Linked DNA regions of Homo sapiens: region 1 is linked to region 2. Evidence: promoter capture Hi-C in 16 types of primary human blood cells and fetal thymus (Javierre and others, 2016). All regions are on one chromosome and are shown on one strand. The core of a region is centred on a gene start or on the middle of the fragment in contact, and the rest is flanking DNA. Distances in the headings are between cores, read along the strand shown. Region 1 has its middle 10 kb from the start of EIF1AD. Region 2 holds the start of SNX32 (sorting nexin 32).

Region 1 (7,124 bases), core at 3,312-5,811, 160 kb after region 2:
CAACATGGAGAAACCCCATCTCTACTAAAAATACAAAATTAGCCAGGCGTGGTGGTGCGTGCCTGTAATCCCAGCTACTTGGGAGGCTGAGGCAGGAGAATCGCTTGAATCCAGTAGGCGGAGGTTGCGGTGAGCCAAGATCGCGCCAGTGCACTCCAGCCTGGGCAAGAAAAGTGAAACTGGGTCCCCCAAAAAACAAAAAAACCAGGGCAGTTCCCCACCACCCTCCAAGCACTGTACTCCAGCTTGTAAATGCTGCTGGGGAGGAAGGCCACTTCTGATCATGCCTTGGTGAGTGAATCCATCTCTGGGGGAGTGGAACTTGTGTTCGCAGTGGTCTACCAGCATCCTAACTGCTGTTGGGGCATGTGGACCCTTTGATTGGACCAAGAATGCAGTTCCCTTATGAGACTGTAACTAGGTTAGATGCTTTCGGGTTCTGTAGCCCAAGGCAAGGTGCTGACTTGCTGGTTTTACGTGCTTAGGGTGACCTCTGCTGGTGGCTTCTCTAAATGTTGGCAGAATACACAGCCAGGAACTGCCGGTACCGTCTCACATCAGCCAGTAGTTGGAGCCACATTGCTATCAGAAGGAAAAGAGTGCTCTTCTCATACAAGAATTATTAAAACAAAGTGATGCCCAATGCTGTTCAAGAATGAACAGCCTGGTCTGGTTAGTAACAAAGGATTCTGGTACTTGGCAACTCATTGTGGATTAGCAAGGGTTAAATAACAAAGTGGGTATTTTAGCGTCATGAGAATCTATCACAATAACTGGAAGAATTGCTGCCAGTACTGGCACCTGGTGTACAGCCCTGGGCACTGCTAGTTCTTTTTTTTTTTTTTTTTGGTTGGAGTCTTGCTCTTGCCCAGGCCGGAGTACAGTGGCGCCATCTCGGCTCACTGCAACCTCTGCCTCCCCTCCTGGGTTCAAGCGATTCTCCTATCTCAGCCTCCCAAGTAGCTGGGATGACAGGCGTGCACCACCACACCCAGCTAATTTTTGTATTTTTTTAGTAGAGACAGGGTTTCACCAGTTGGCCGGGCTGGTCTCGAACTCCTGATCTCAGGTGATCCACCTGCCTTGGCCTCCCAAAGTGCTGGGATTACAAGCGTGAGCTACCGCGCCCAGCCTGTACTGCTAATTCTTCATTCCTCAGTGTCACCAGATGAGGCATACGGCATGCCTCCACACCTCCCACAGGGGCTTTTGGATTCTCTTGCAAATGTCACCAGTGGATCAAACACACGCACAGCATGAACTGCTGGTGGTGTCCGTGGTGTCCTGACTTCTTGCTTCATCAGTGATTTTCTGAGGGCGGCTCCCACTGAGGAAACTGCCCACACTTCTCTGTGTGCTTCTCAGACACAGGTCAGTAGAGATGTTTGGGCCTTGAATGAAGACAAAACCCACGGTTCTGTGGCCCAAGTCACTTTCCTGGGAGACAACTGGGCAACTACTAAAGACGAAGCACCAGGCCGGGCACGGTGGCTCACCACCTGTCATCCCAGCACTGTGGGAGGCCAAGGCGGGTGGATCACCTGAGGGCAGGAGTTCGAGACCAGCCTGGCCAACATGGTGAAATCCCATCTCTACTAAAAATACAAAAAAAATTAGCTGGGTGTGGTGGTGCAGGCCTGTAATCCCAGCTACTCGGGAGGCTGAGGCAGGAGAATTGCTTGAACCCTGGATGCGGAGGTTGCAGTGGGCTGAGATCGTACAATTGCACTCCAGCCTGGGCGACAAGAGCGAGACTCCATCTCAAAAAGTAAGTAAGTAAGTAAATAAATAAATAAATAAAAATAAATAAAAATAAAGCAAACCATGTAAAAAGAAAAAAAGTGCACATGGAATTCGGACAATGGTTGCCTTGGGTGGGACAGCAGAGAATGGGCTGGTCAGGGTAGGATGGGAGGTGGAGTATGTTACTTGGGTTATTGTTAAAGTCCTAGCCTTTATTTTATGGTGGTGGGTTTGAAGCTGCTCACATTATTAAAAATAACCAACCAAATATTTAATTATTCTTGACTTTTAATTTTTTATTGAAAGGGAGTCTCACTATGTCACCCAGGCTGGCCTCAAACTCCTCAAGGGCTTAAGCAATCCTTTCCCTTCAGCCTTTCAAGTAGCTGGGATTACAGGCATGTGCCACCATGCCCAGCCAAAATGTTTAAATATAGGCCAGACTCAGTGGCTTACGCCTGTAATCCCAGCATTTTGGGAGGCCGAGGCGGGTGGATCACCTGAGGTCAGGAGTTCGAGACCAGCCTGGTCAACATGCTGAAACCCCGTCTCTACTAAAATATAAAAATTAGCCAGGCGTGGTGGTGGGCGCCTGTAATCCCAGCTACTCAGGAGGCTGAGGCAGAAGAATGGCTTGAACCTGTGAGGCACAGGTTGCAGTGAGCTGAGATTGCACCACTGCACTCCAGCCTGGGTGACAGAGCAAGACTCCATCTCAGAAACAAAACAAAACAAAACAAAACAAAGAAAGGAAAAAGAAAAAGAACTACAGGATAAACCCAGAGGGATTGGTTTGTTTCCCATTGGTTATGAGAAAAAAACAAAAACAAACAAAAACAAAGGGAGTATAAGTGGGAAATACGGTAAGAGCAGCAATTAATGAAATACCAATACAAAGAATGACAACAAAAAGCTGGTGCTTAGAAAAGACTAATAATGACCTTCTGCCAAGATTGACCAGCTATAACAGAGAGAAGGCACAAATAAACAATATTACATGTAAAAAGGGGGACATAACTTTGGATACAGCCAAGATTACAAACATAAGGCAATCATACAAATAACTTTGCGCCAGTAAGTTTGAAGCCATAGCAAACATGAGAAAATATGGGGGCTGGGTGTGGTGGCTCACGCCTGTAACCCCAGCAATTTGGGAGGCTGCGGTGGGCAGATCACCTGAGATCGGGAGTTTGAGACCAGCCTGGCCAACATGGTGAAACCCCATCTCTACTAAAAATACAAAAATTAGCCGGCCATGGTGGCACATACCTGTAATCCCAGCTATTCGGGAGGCTGAGGCAGGAGAATCACTTGAACCCGGGAGGCGGAGGTTGCAGTGAGCCGAGATGGGGCCACTGCACTCCAGCCTGGGCGACAGAGCAAGATCCTGTCTCAAAAATAAATAAATAAATAAATAACATGAAAATATTTTTCCTTGAAAATATGACTGAAGAACAGAACACCTGAGTAATCTATTACCACTGACAATCTAATTCCAAACCTACCTACCCACCCACCCAAAAAATCGCCAGGCATGGTTGGTTTTACAGCAAGCTTTACCAAAAATTGTAGAAATGCAAAATTCCAATCTTATACAAACTCTCGTAATGAAAATAAAGGGAAAACACTTTCCAACTTATTTATATGAAGCTGGTATAACCTTGATACAAAACAAAGGGTGGGGGCAGTACGGAAAAGGAAAACCTTAAACCATTTCACCTATACACCTGGATGCCAAAATACCAGAGAACCAAATCCGGCAGTATAATAACAAATCCATTGTGACTGTCTTCTTCCAGGAATGCAAGGATATCTTAACGTGAGAGAATGTTATGATACTCCACCACATTTACAGATTAGAAGAGGAAAACCATGTGGTGAGCTCAGACTGCCATCTGTGCTCCCTGGCACACACACAGGGGTGGCTGGGTGGCAAGGGGGGAAAGCGCACTGGGCCACACGGGGAAGCCCTGGTGGAAATGACCTGGCTGTAGAGGTTAGTCCTGAAGTGACAGAGGTACAGATTCTGAAGGGCCACAAAGTCTCAAGCATAACTGCAAGAGAAGCCAGTAAGTACTATTAGGCAGCCAGTCACAGGGACTGGCCATGACATCGGGACAAGGGGCTCTTACATCAGATCTCAGCTCACTCAGGGAGATCTATTCATACATGGTTGGATCCCACCATTCAGTTGGAAGAACAGAGGTGGAATCCAGCTTCAGAGAATGACATAGGAAAGTAGCATGCAGAATACAAGGACCCTACCTCCATCAGTACCCTTAGCTACAGCCCACAGAAGCTGAATGGCTGGTAAGAGATGAAGAAGTGGAAACGAAAAGGTTTTAGGGGGAAAAAAAGATGTTACTAGGTGGATCACAGTATCACTGAGAGAATGGAGAAGAACATAAGACCAAGTTTACAGATAAAACGCCAAAACACACACACACAAAGTGGGGAACAGTCAAAGGACTATTTAGAAGAAAACATATAGCCCTGAATATATTAGAAAACAAATTGAAATTAAATTAGCTAAGCACACATCTCAAGAACCCAGAATGAGCAAATAAACCCAAAGAAACGAAGGAAAAGTCCAGTAAGGAAGACCTCTTGCAAAGCTAGCCAAATAAAATACACAAAATATAAACATATTTTGTTGATTTCACCTGCCCTCACCCCTTGCCCCACTTTTTCTGGTAATAGAACCTCTCTATTCCATGGGAAACATATAAAAATTACTTGTGGCTCATCCTGCCCCACCCCAGTCCTCCACACCCTCCCACCCCCCGGCCCTGGCCACAGTGACTGCTCAAGCACAGCAAGTGACCTGAGGAAGATCAATCGCCCTTCACGGAAATACAGGGATCCTCAAGAGCCCCAAGGGGCTCTGTCTACAAGGACTGTGTATAAACTTGAGCGTCCTGGCTGGGCGCAGTGGCTCATGCCTGTAATCCCAGCACTCTGGGAGGCCGACGCAGGCGGATCACGAGGTCAGGAGATCGAGACCATCCTGGCTAACACGGTGAAACCCTGTCTCTACTAAAAATACAAAAAATTAGCCGGGCGTGGTGGCGGGCGCCTGTAGTCCCAGCTACTCAGGAGGCTGAGGCAAGAGAATGGCGTGAACCCCGGGGGGCGGAGCCTGCAGTGAGCCGAGATCGCGCCATTGCACTCCAGCCTGGGCAACAGCGAGACTCCGTCTCAAAAAAAAAAAAAAAAAAAAAACTTGAGCTTTCTACAGAAAACATCTGTAGGAGGGAAAGAAATTAATCAGCCGGGAGCAGAGATGACAGAGATAAATGAGAGAGCCTGAGGAATTCATGCTGCTGGCATTGGTTCATCCCTGCCCGATGCGCACCACTCAGAGACCTCAGGTCAATGAGCCTTGCTTACTTCTCCTAATTTGAGTTCAATTTTGTCATTTATAAGAAAGTCCCGCATACGCCAGGATGGTGGCTCTCACCTGTAATCCCAGTACTTTGAGAGGCCAGGGCAGGAGCATCACTTGAGCCTGGGAGTTCGAGACTAGCCTGGGCAACATAGGGAGAGCCTGTCTCTACTAAAAATAAAAAAAATTAGCCAGGTGTGGTGGCGCGCACATGTGGTTCCAGCTACTCAGGAGGCTGAGGTGGGAGAATCACTTGGGCCTGGGAGGTCAAGGCTGCAGTGGCGCCATGATGGCCTGGGCAACAGAGTGAGAGGCTGTCTCAAAAAAAAAAAAAAAATTACTGGGTGCAGTGGCTCACCCTTGTAATCCCAGCACTTTGTGAGGCTGAGGGGGGCCAATCACCTGAGGTCAGGACTTTGAGACCAGCCTGGTCAACATGGCAAAACCCCATCTCTACTAAAAATACAAAAATTAGCTGGGTGTGGTGGCGGGTGCCTGTAATTCCAGCTACTTGGGAGGCTGAGGCAGGAGAATCACTTGAACCCGGGAGGTGGAGGTTACAGTGAGCCGATACTGCACCACTGCACTCAAGCCTGGGCGACACAGTGAAACTCTGCCTCAAAAACAAAACAAAAACAAACAAACAAAAAAAGAAAGTTCCAAATAATACAAATATTATGCATGAACTTTTGCCCAAAAAGCTTAAATATATATGAAATATGATCCTGGAATGATACAAATGATCAAAATTGACTCAAGGATAGAAAACTTTAGACAGAACACAACTGAATAAACTAAAAGGCAGTGAAAGATCCACCCCTGAAAAAGGTACCCAGCACAGATGTTTTTGTAAACAAGTTCACAACGTTGAAGAAACAAATGCCTGGCCTATAAAGTATTCAAGCCTGAAGAAAAAGACGTCTCCAAACCCATTTGCAAGGCTAGCATAAAGCTAATCTCGAAATAGAACAGGAAGGTCATTTTTTAAAAAGAGGGAGGGGATTGGCCCAGGGAGAGAGATAAAACTCCTAAGTAAATACATAATATACTGTAAAACTAAGCAAGGTTTATATCAGAAAGTAAGGTGTGTCCAACATTAGGAAACCTATTACTGTAACTCAGTACAATCATACAATAAAATCTTTTGATTTTCTCCATAGATGTCAACATTCATCACTGTTAAACAAAAGCGAAGGAGAAAAAAAAAACAGTAAGATGGAACAAAGAAAACATCTTCAGTCTAATGAAGATCATCTACCGGAAGCCCAGAGCAAGCGTCCTACCTCAGGACGCAACGTGAGAACCATTCCCACTGAGAAAACATCAATCAAGGGTGCCATGCAACCACGGTGGAGGTCCTGGCCTCTGAGATTCACAAGAAATAGACATGAGTGTAAAGGAGGAGATAAAACTGTCATTAGTGGGATACGATTTGGCTATCTATAAAGCCACAAGATCAACTGAAGAACTGCGCATTCGACAAGGTGGGCAACACAAAGATGGACACACAGGTGGATGCCAGGGATGGGGAAAGGTGATTTCCACAGATCCTTCACTACCAGTAACTAGGACTTTCATAAAACTCCTAAGACTAAACCAAATTGGAAGTAAAGGCCCATTTGAAGACCACACCACCTTACCAAAGAACATACCTCATTTCTGGACAGGAAGATGAAAAACTGTTAATTTTTCTACAATATTTATTTAAACAAAACTAAAAATAAACTGTTAAGATACCACTTCTTGGGTGGACATAGTGGCTCACGCCTGGAATCCCAGCCCTCTGGGAGGCTGAGGCGGGAGGATGGCTTGCCCAGGAGTTTGAGACCAGCCTGGGCAACATAATAAGACTGGCTCTACAAAAAAAAAAAAAAAAAAAAATAGAAAAAGAAAAATTAGCCCGATGTGGTGGTGCACACCTGTGGTCCCAGCTACGCAGTAGGCTGAGGTAGAAGGATCGCTTGAGCCCAGGAGGTGGAGGCTGCAATGAGCCATG
Region 2 (6,675 bases), core at 3,005-5,504:
TTCTCTGTAGAAACCAGACGGTCCCTTCAGTGAGATTTACAGATTCTGATATTTGGGTGTACCCAGTAAAATATCCTGCTTGCTTCAGTCGCCACAGAGTGAAGCCCATAGATCAACAAGCCCCAAATTGTGCTTCCAATTGCCTCTGCTTAATGCCTCATTCTTAAATATGGACAGCCGAAGATCAAACATTTGAGGAAAACTTCCAACAATACACACACAAAAAAAATGGAGCGGGGGGAAGCAGGGGAGGGGAACTCAGGGGAAACAATAAGAAAAGCAGAAGAAAACTTAAAAACTGGAAAAATCCTTGGAGAGCTAAGAGAACAGACTCATGAAACAAGAACAGAAATACTATATATAAAAAAAGAAGCACGGCCGGGCTCGGTGGCTCACGCCTGTAATCCCAGCACTTTGGGAGGCCAAGATGGGTGGATCACCTGAGGTCAGGAGTTCAAAACCAGCCTGACCAACATGGTGGAACCCCGTTTCTACTAAAAATACAAAAAATTAGCCGGGTGTGGTGATGCATTCCTGTAATCCCAGCTCATGCAGTGAGCACAGGAGGCTAAGTCAGGAGAATTGCTTGAACCGGGGAGGCGGAGGTTGCAGTGAGCCAAGATCACGCCATTACACTCCAGCCTGGGTGACAGAGCAAGACTCCAGACTCCATCTCAAAAAAAAAAAAAAAAGCAATCAATGAACAAGAGAGTTAAAATGTAAAATTTCAATAAGAAAGAAAGATACAGTTAATAAAGTTGAAAGTGGATCTCATGAAAATAGAGATGAGATTGGTGGTTACTGGAGGCCAGGAAGGGTGGAGGAAATAAAGACATGTTAATGAGTAGAAATGTACAGTTAGATGGAAGAAATGGGACCCAGTGTTCTATAGATCAGTAGGGTGACTGTAGTTAACAATAATCTATTGTACATTTCAAAATCACTAGAAGAGAATGATTCGAATGTTCCTGGCATAAAGAAAAGATAAATATTTAAGATGATGGATATCCCAATTGCCCTGATTTGATCTTTACACATTATATGAATGTATCAAAATATTACAGGTACCCCCAAAATACGTACATCTACTATACATCAATTGTTTTAAAGTTAATGAAATTGCCCAGAGAATACAATAAAAAGAGACGGGCAAAAGGAGAAAAAAAGATAACAGCTATAATTCAAGGTCTAACATCCTCTAGTAAGGCCAGAGAAAATGGGGTGAGGATACAGGTTGAGTTAGGGAGTGGTAGCAAACAGGTAATTTACATAGAAAAAAACACTATCTATAGAATTAAAAGAAAAGAACAAAAAGACTTATAAATAGCAATACTTGGAAGTTAGAAGATAGTGAGGGAATTAGCCAGGCATGGTGGCACATGTCTGTAATCCCAGCTACTTGGGAGGCTGAGACAGGAGAATCGCTTGAGCCTGGGAGGCAGAGGTTGCAGTGAGCCGAGATTGCGCCACTGCACACTCCAACCTGGGCAACAGAGCAAGACTGTCTCAAAAAAAAAAAAGAAAAAAGAAAAAGAAAGAAAGAAAGAAAGAAAAGAAAAGAAAAGAAAAGGAAATAATGAAGGACATACCAACAAACACAATCACCATTATGGCACGTGGCTTCTTATGTTTTTTCTCACTTCTTTCTTATCTCCTCTCTTGCTTTTGTCACTTGGGAGCCCTTCATTCTTCAGGCTCCTCTTTCAGAAATTTTGCCCACTTCAGTCTGCACCTTCTTCCACAACTCTCAAAATCTACCCTTTATCCTGCTGCAATTCTCCATCTCATAGACCCCATTTAGTGTCAGACTAAATCCTTCTAGCCCATCCTCCATCCTTTTCTCAAACATTTCCCTATGAGCTCCCAGTCACACCTTTTCTCCCAATATCCAAGTGTCCTCTGTCAACACATTACCAAGTCTTCTCTTTCTCCTCCATATGTTCCCACTTCCCTCTGAACCAGAGACTCCTCTTTGCTTCCTTTGATCCTGGCCTCCGCCTTCAGCCCCAGAAGCTCTTTTCCTCACTTCCACTCTCTTTTATTTTAGGCTCAGACTCTCTCCTTTCCTTTCTCAACTTTACCCCTTCAGTGTCAATAATGTTCTGTCTGGCTCTAATTTCTCCTCTGACTTTCAGTACTTCTCCTGTCTGCCTCTTTCCTTCTTTGGTGTCAATCCTTCATCTGCCTCATTCACTGGTACCTTCACCTATAATATCTTTTTTTTCCATAGAAACAGATTCATCAGTGATATCTTTCACTTCACTCAAGATGCCCCCCTCAACTCCCACTCCTTTCTCAGTCCCTTGTAGTTCCTCACTCCCTTTGACACTTTCAAAAGGAATTTCCATCTCATCATGAGTAAATGCCATCACTCTTTCATCGCCAGTAACTTCTACCACTTTTTCAATGTTCTTCTCATTTATGCTCCCCATTCTTGAACCCTCCAATTTCTCCCCGCTGGTCCCTAACTTCTCCTCACTAGATCTCAGCTTCTCCGCACTTGACCCCAGCTTCTCTCCACTCAACCTCAGCTTCTCTCTGCTTGATCTCAGCTTCTCTCCACTGGTTCCCAGCTTCTCTCTGCTTGATCTCAGCTTCTCTCCACTCAACCTCAGCTTCTCATCACTTGTTCCCAGCTTCTCTCCACTCAATCTCAGCTTCTCTCTGCTTGATCTTAGCTTCTCTCCACTCAACCTCAGCTTCTCTCTGCTTGATCTTAGCTTCTCTCCACTCAACCTCAGCTTCTCATCACTGGTTCCCAGCTTCTCTCCACTCAACCTCAGCTTCTCTCTGCTTGATCTCAGCTTCTCTCCACTCAACCTCAGCTTCTCTCCACTCAACCTCAGCTTCTCATCACTGGTTCCCAGCTTCTCTCCACTCAACCTCAGCTTCTCTCTGATTGATCTCAGCATCTCTCCACTCAACCTCAGCTTCTCATCACTGGTTCCCAGCTTCTCTCCACTAGTTCCCAGCTTCTCTCCACTCCATCTCAGCTTCTCTCTACTTGATCTCAAATTCTCTCCACTTGATCTCAGCTTTCTGCCACTGGACCTCAGCTTCACTCCACTGGACCCCTGCTTCTCTCCCCTGCACACCAGCTTCTCACTAGTAGACCTCAGCTTCTCTACACTTGATCTCATCTTGTCTACACTAGACCTCAACCCCTTCTCATCCTGTCCCAGTTTATATCCATTGGATCTCAAGTCCTCTCCACTGGTCCCTACCTTCTCCCCAGCAGACCTCAACCTCTCTTCAAACCCAGACCCCTTCATAGGCCCTGCTGTCATCCCTGCACTCTTAGATTTAGCCTTTATTTCGTGTTTGACCTCTTGCTTTCCCCAAATACCCCTTGGGCTGTCTTTCCCCAAATCTGCTGAAGCTTGTGATGCACTTGCTCCACGGTATAGCAGCTTCACATCCATCCTTTCCTGACTCGGGCCTGACTTCCCTTTCAAGACCGTCTTTTCCACATCTTCCAGTCTCCAGTACTCAGACTCCAGCTTCGGCTTTCGAGTGTTTCTAGTCAGGAGCTCCACTCTCTTCCCAATTACCATGAGCCCGTTCCAAGGTCCCCAGGTTTTCTCTCGCAGCATCGGCACCCCCTTGCAGCCCCGCTCCAGTGGCGACCGTTCGCGGACCCCGGCCTCGCTTGGGGCGCCCTGGCCGCGGGACTTGTGGAGCTCCCTAGTCCTCCTAGGCTGCTTACCCCGCCGCTCCCTCCCGTCCAAGAGCGGAAACCTAAACAGACCCCCCTTCTCCACAGACATTGTCCCCTGCCCTCGCCCCTGGTCCACCACCCACATCCCCACCACTGCTTCCCATTCCCTGTCCCCACCCTGCCACCCTCACCCTCTTCCCCTTCCCCTTCCCCTTCCCCACTGCCTGGTGGGCGCCAAACTGGGCGAGTGCGCACGCGCAGGCCGCACGTGGCCGTTGGAAGGAGGGGCCCGGAACGGCGGCACGGGGTTGTTGTGGGGGTCAGTCCCCCGGGGACTGGAGGGAGACGCGGCACGCGGCCTCTGCGACCCTATGAACTCTGACCCCAGCTCCCACACTGTCGCCTATCACCGGCCCACTCTCCGTGCCGCGTGTCCCTTAAAAGCTGGGGCCTGGGACAGGAACGACAGACAATGCAGCCAATGGCGTCACGCGCGGTGCCCCGCTACCCAATCGAAAGGCGTGGCTGAGGGAAACGCGGTGGGAACCGCCCCCGACTCCAGGCGACTCCTTGGCCGGGCGGGGGAGAGCGTCCCCGTCAGCTGAGAGCATCCTCACTCGGTCAGTTCCTCGGGCGAGTTACGGGGACGACCTGCGGGAGCACGCGGGCAGTGGCCGGACGCTGAAGCCCAGGAGAGCGATGGAGACGTATGCGGAGGTTGGGAAGGAGGGCAAGGTAGAGAAAGGATGAAGACCCCCACCCCAGCCTCCCCTCACTCCATGAAAGCCCGTGATGCCCAATCATGCGGTGGTGTGTGTGTGTCTGTGTGTGTGTGGTCTGCCTCTGTGTGTTTCTGTGTGTGTCTGTGTGTGTATAGTCTGCATGTGTCTGTTTCTCTGTGTGTCTGTGTGTATGTCGATGTGCCTGCATATGTCTGTGTGTGTGTGTATCTGTGTATGTCTGTATTTGTGTCTCTGTGTGTCTGTGTGTCTGTGTGTGTCTCAGTGTGTGTCTGTGTCTTTGTGTGTCTCTGTGTATCTGTGTGTGTGTCTGTGTGTCTCCGTGTCTCTGTGTGTGTGTGTATGGCCTGTGTGTGTCTGTGTGTGTGCACGTATGCGTCCATGTGGGTGTTTGTGCGTGCATGTCTGTGTCTGTCTCTGTGTGTGTCTGTGCATGTCTGTGTGTGTGTGTCTGTGTGTCTGTGTCTGTGTATGGTCTGCGTGTGTCTTTGTGTCTGTGTCTGTCTGTGTGTATGGTCTGCATGTGTGCATGTATGCATCTGTGTGTGTCTCTGTGTGTATCTGTGTGTGCACGCATGTGCCTGTGTGTGTCTGCGCAGGTCTGTGTCTCTTTGTGTCTGAGTGTGTGTCTGTCTCTGTGTCTATGTATGGTCTGCGTGCATCTTTATGTCTGTGTGTGTGTGTCTCTGTGTGTGTGTATGGTCTGCGTGTGTCTGTGTGTGTGTGTCTGTGTATTTCTGGGTCTGTGTGTGTGTTTGCATGTGTCTGTGTGTGTCTGTATCCGTGTGTCTTTGTATATCTGTGTGTGTCTATGTCAGTGTGTCTGTGTGTGCATCTGTGTGTGTCTGTGTGCCTGTGTATGATCTGTGTATGTCGTTGTGTGTGTCTGTGTGTGTGTTTCTCTGTGCCTGTGTGTTTGTGTGTGTCTGTGTATCTGTGTGTGTTTCTATGTGTGTCTGTGTGTGCGTGTGTCTGTGTTTGTCTCGTGTGTCTGTGTGTGTGTATGTGCCCATGTGTCTCTGTGTGTATGTGTGTGTCTGCGCAAGTGAGAGAAAGGAGACTTGAGCAAGGGAGTGGGGAGCCTCTGTGGCACCTGTGTGCGGACTGATGAGGATGCCAAGGGAGGCAGGGTTTTGCCTTTGTCCTTACAGATGGAAAGGGACCCGTCACTGTCACTCTTACCCTCCCCAAGACCAACTCAGGCTGTCTTGATGGGGGTAGGTGGGTAGGGGGTGGGAGGTGAGGGCGGGGAGGAGGGCAGGATGTTAGGGATTGAGCAGAGGCTGGCATCCTCTTCTCCTTTCCCAAGGCGAGAGAATCCTGTTCAGCCCTAATGGCTTCACTTGTGTTCTGAGTTCATGTAATGATAAGACCATTTCTTCCTTTTGACTTCCTTCAGCAAAGAGTTGTCGAGCATCCACGTTGTGCCAAGGATGGTTAGAGCATGGAGAGGTGCACCCTTTTGGGAGATGGAGGCATATGCATAGTGGGCCGTGGCTGAGGATGAGGATGGAGCAGCTGTGGTCCACCTTTGAGGCCCATCTCCCTCAAGCAGCTACCAAGCAGTGTAGGTCAGAGTAGAGATACTAAGGCAGGAGGAAAGAGGCTGGGGACTAGGGGACCTGCTGCACCAGTTAGCCAGACTGCATGTGTTTGGGGTCTGGGGCAAGGGGAGAGCCTGCCTTGGGAGTGTCAGAGAAGCCAAGAAATGAGGAGCGGGGTTCAAGTGGTTTAGAGGGGCAAGAGGGGCTGAGAGACACAAAGCATGGAACAGAATGGTCTGCTTCAATGTTTATCTATGTATGTTCATCTTCATGGTTAAAGGAGTTAACATATATAAAATGCTTAGGGCATATACATGAAATGGTTAGAGTGGTGCCTAGCATATTGTAAGGGCCAACATAAGGGTTAGCTATTATATTATTATTATTGTTATATTATTTTTGCTGTATGTTCTGAGGATGTGCTGAGCTATTGAACAGATGGATGCACCCCCCAGCCTTTGCAGGAGCCATACTCTGAAAGTTCACTACCAGTACTTATCCTCTAGGTTAGGTGTTGCCTTCTCTAAGATCTTCCTTTAAATATAGAGACATTAAAAGAATATATAAGCAAAAATATAATAGAGGAGAAAATGAAATAATATAAAATACTGGCCAGGCGTGGTGGCTCAAGCCTGTAATCGCAGCACTCTGGGAGGCCAAAGCAGGCAAATCACTTGAGGTCAGGAATTCAAGACTAGCCTGGCCAACATGGTGAAACCCCATCTCTACTAAA

The links. Contacts are between HindIII fragments. The CHiCAGO score rates a contact against its expected background, and 5 or more counts as called.
Region 1: a contact is called between a fragment that was not itself captured here and the fragment with the promoter of SNX32 in region 2, in 4 of 17 cell types (erythroblasts, M0 macrophages, naive CD8 T cells and 1 more). The highest score is 6.7, in erythroblasts.

The regions. Positions count from the first base shown.
Region 1 is chr11:65,988,641-65,995,764 of GRCh38, forward strand. No RefSeq gene overlaps it. Among named protein-coding and RNA genes, the nearest start is that of EIF1AD, 10 kb to the right of the region's middle. RefSeq lists an enhancer at 722-791. The HindIII fragment of the contact is 2,532 bases long and covers 3,296-5,827 here.
Region 2 is chr11:65,829,709-65,836,383 of GRCh38, forward strand. It overlaps SNX32 (sorting nexin 32), which reads left to right and starts at 4,255. Exons shown (of 13, transcript NM_152760.3): 1 at 4,255-4,393. The coding sequence starts at 4,358. LOC124902693 reads right to left here and starts at 4,091. Exons shown (of 7, transcript XM_047427980.1): 1 at 1,590-4,091. The coding sequence starts at 3,803. The coding sequence ends at 2,187. RefSeq lists silencers at 3,807-3,936, 4,110-4,322 and an enhancer at 4,247-4,336. The HindIII fragment of the contact is 7,193 bases long and covers 3,378-6,675 here.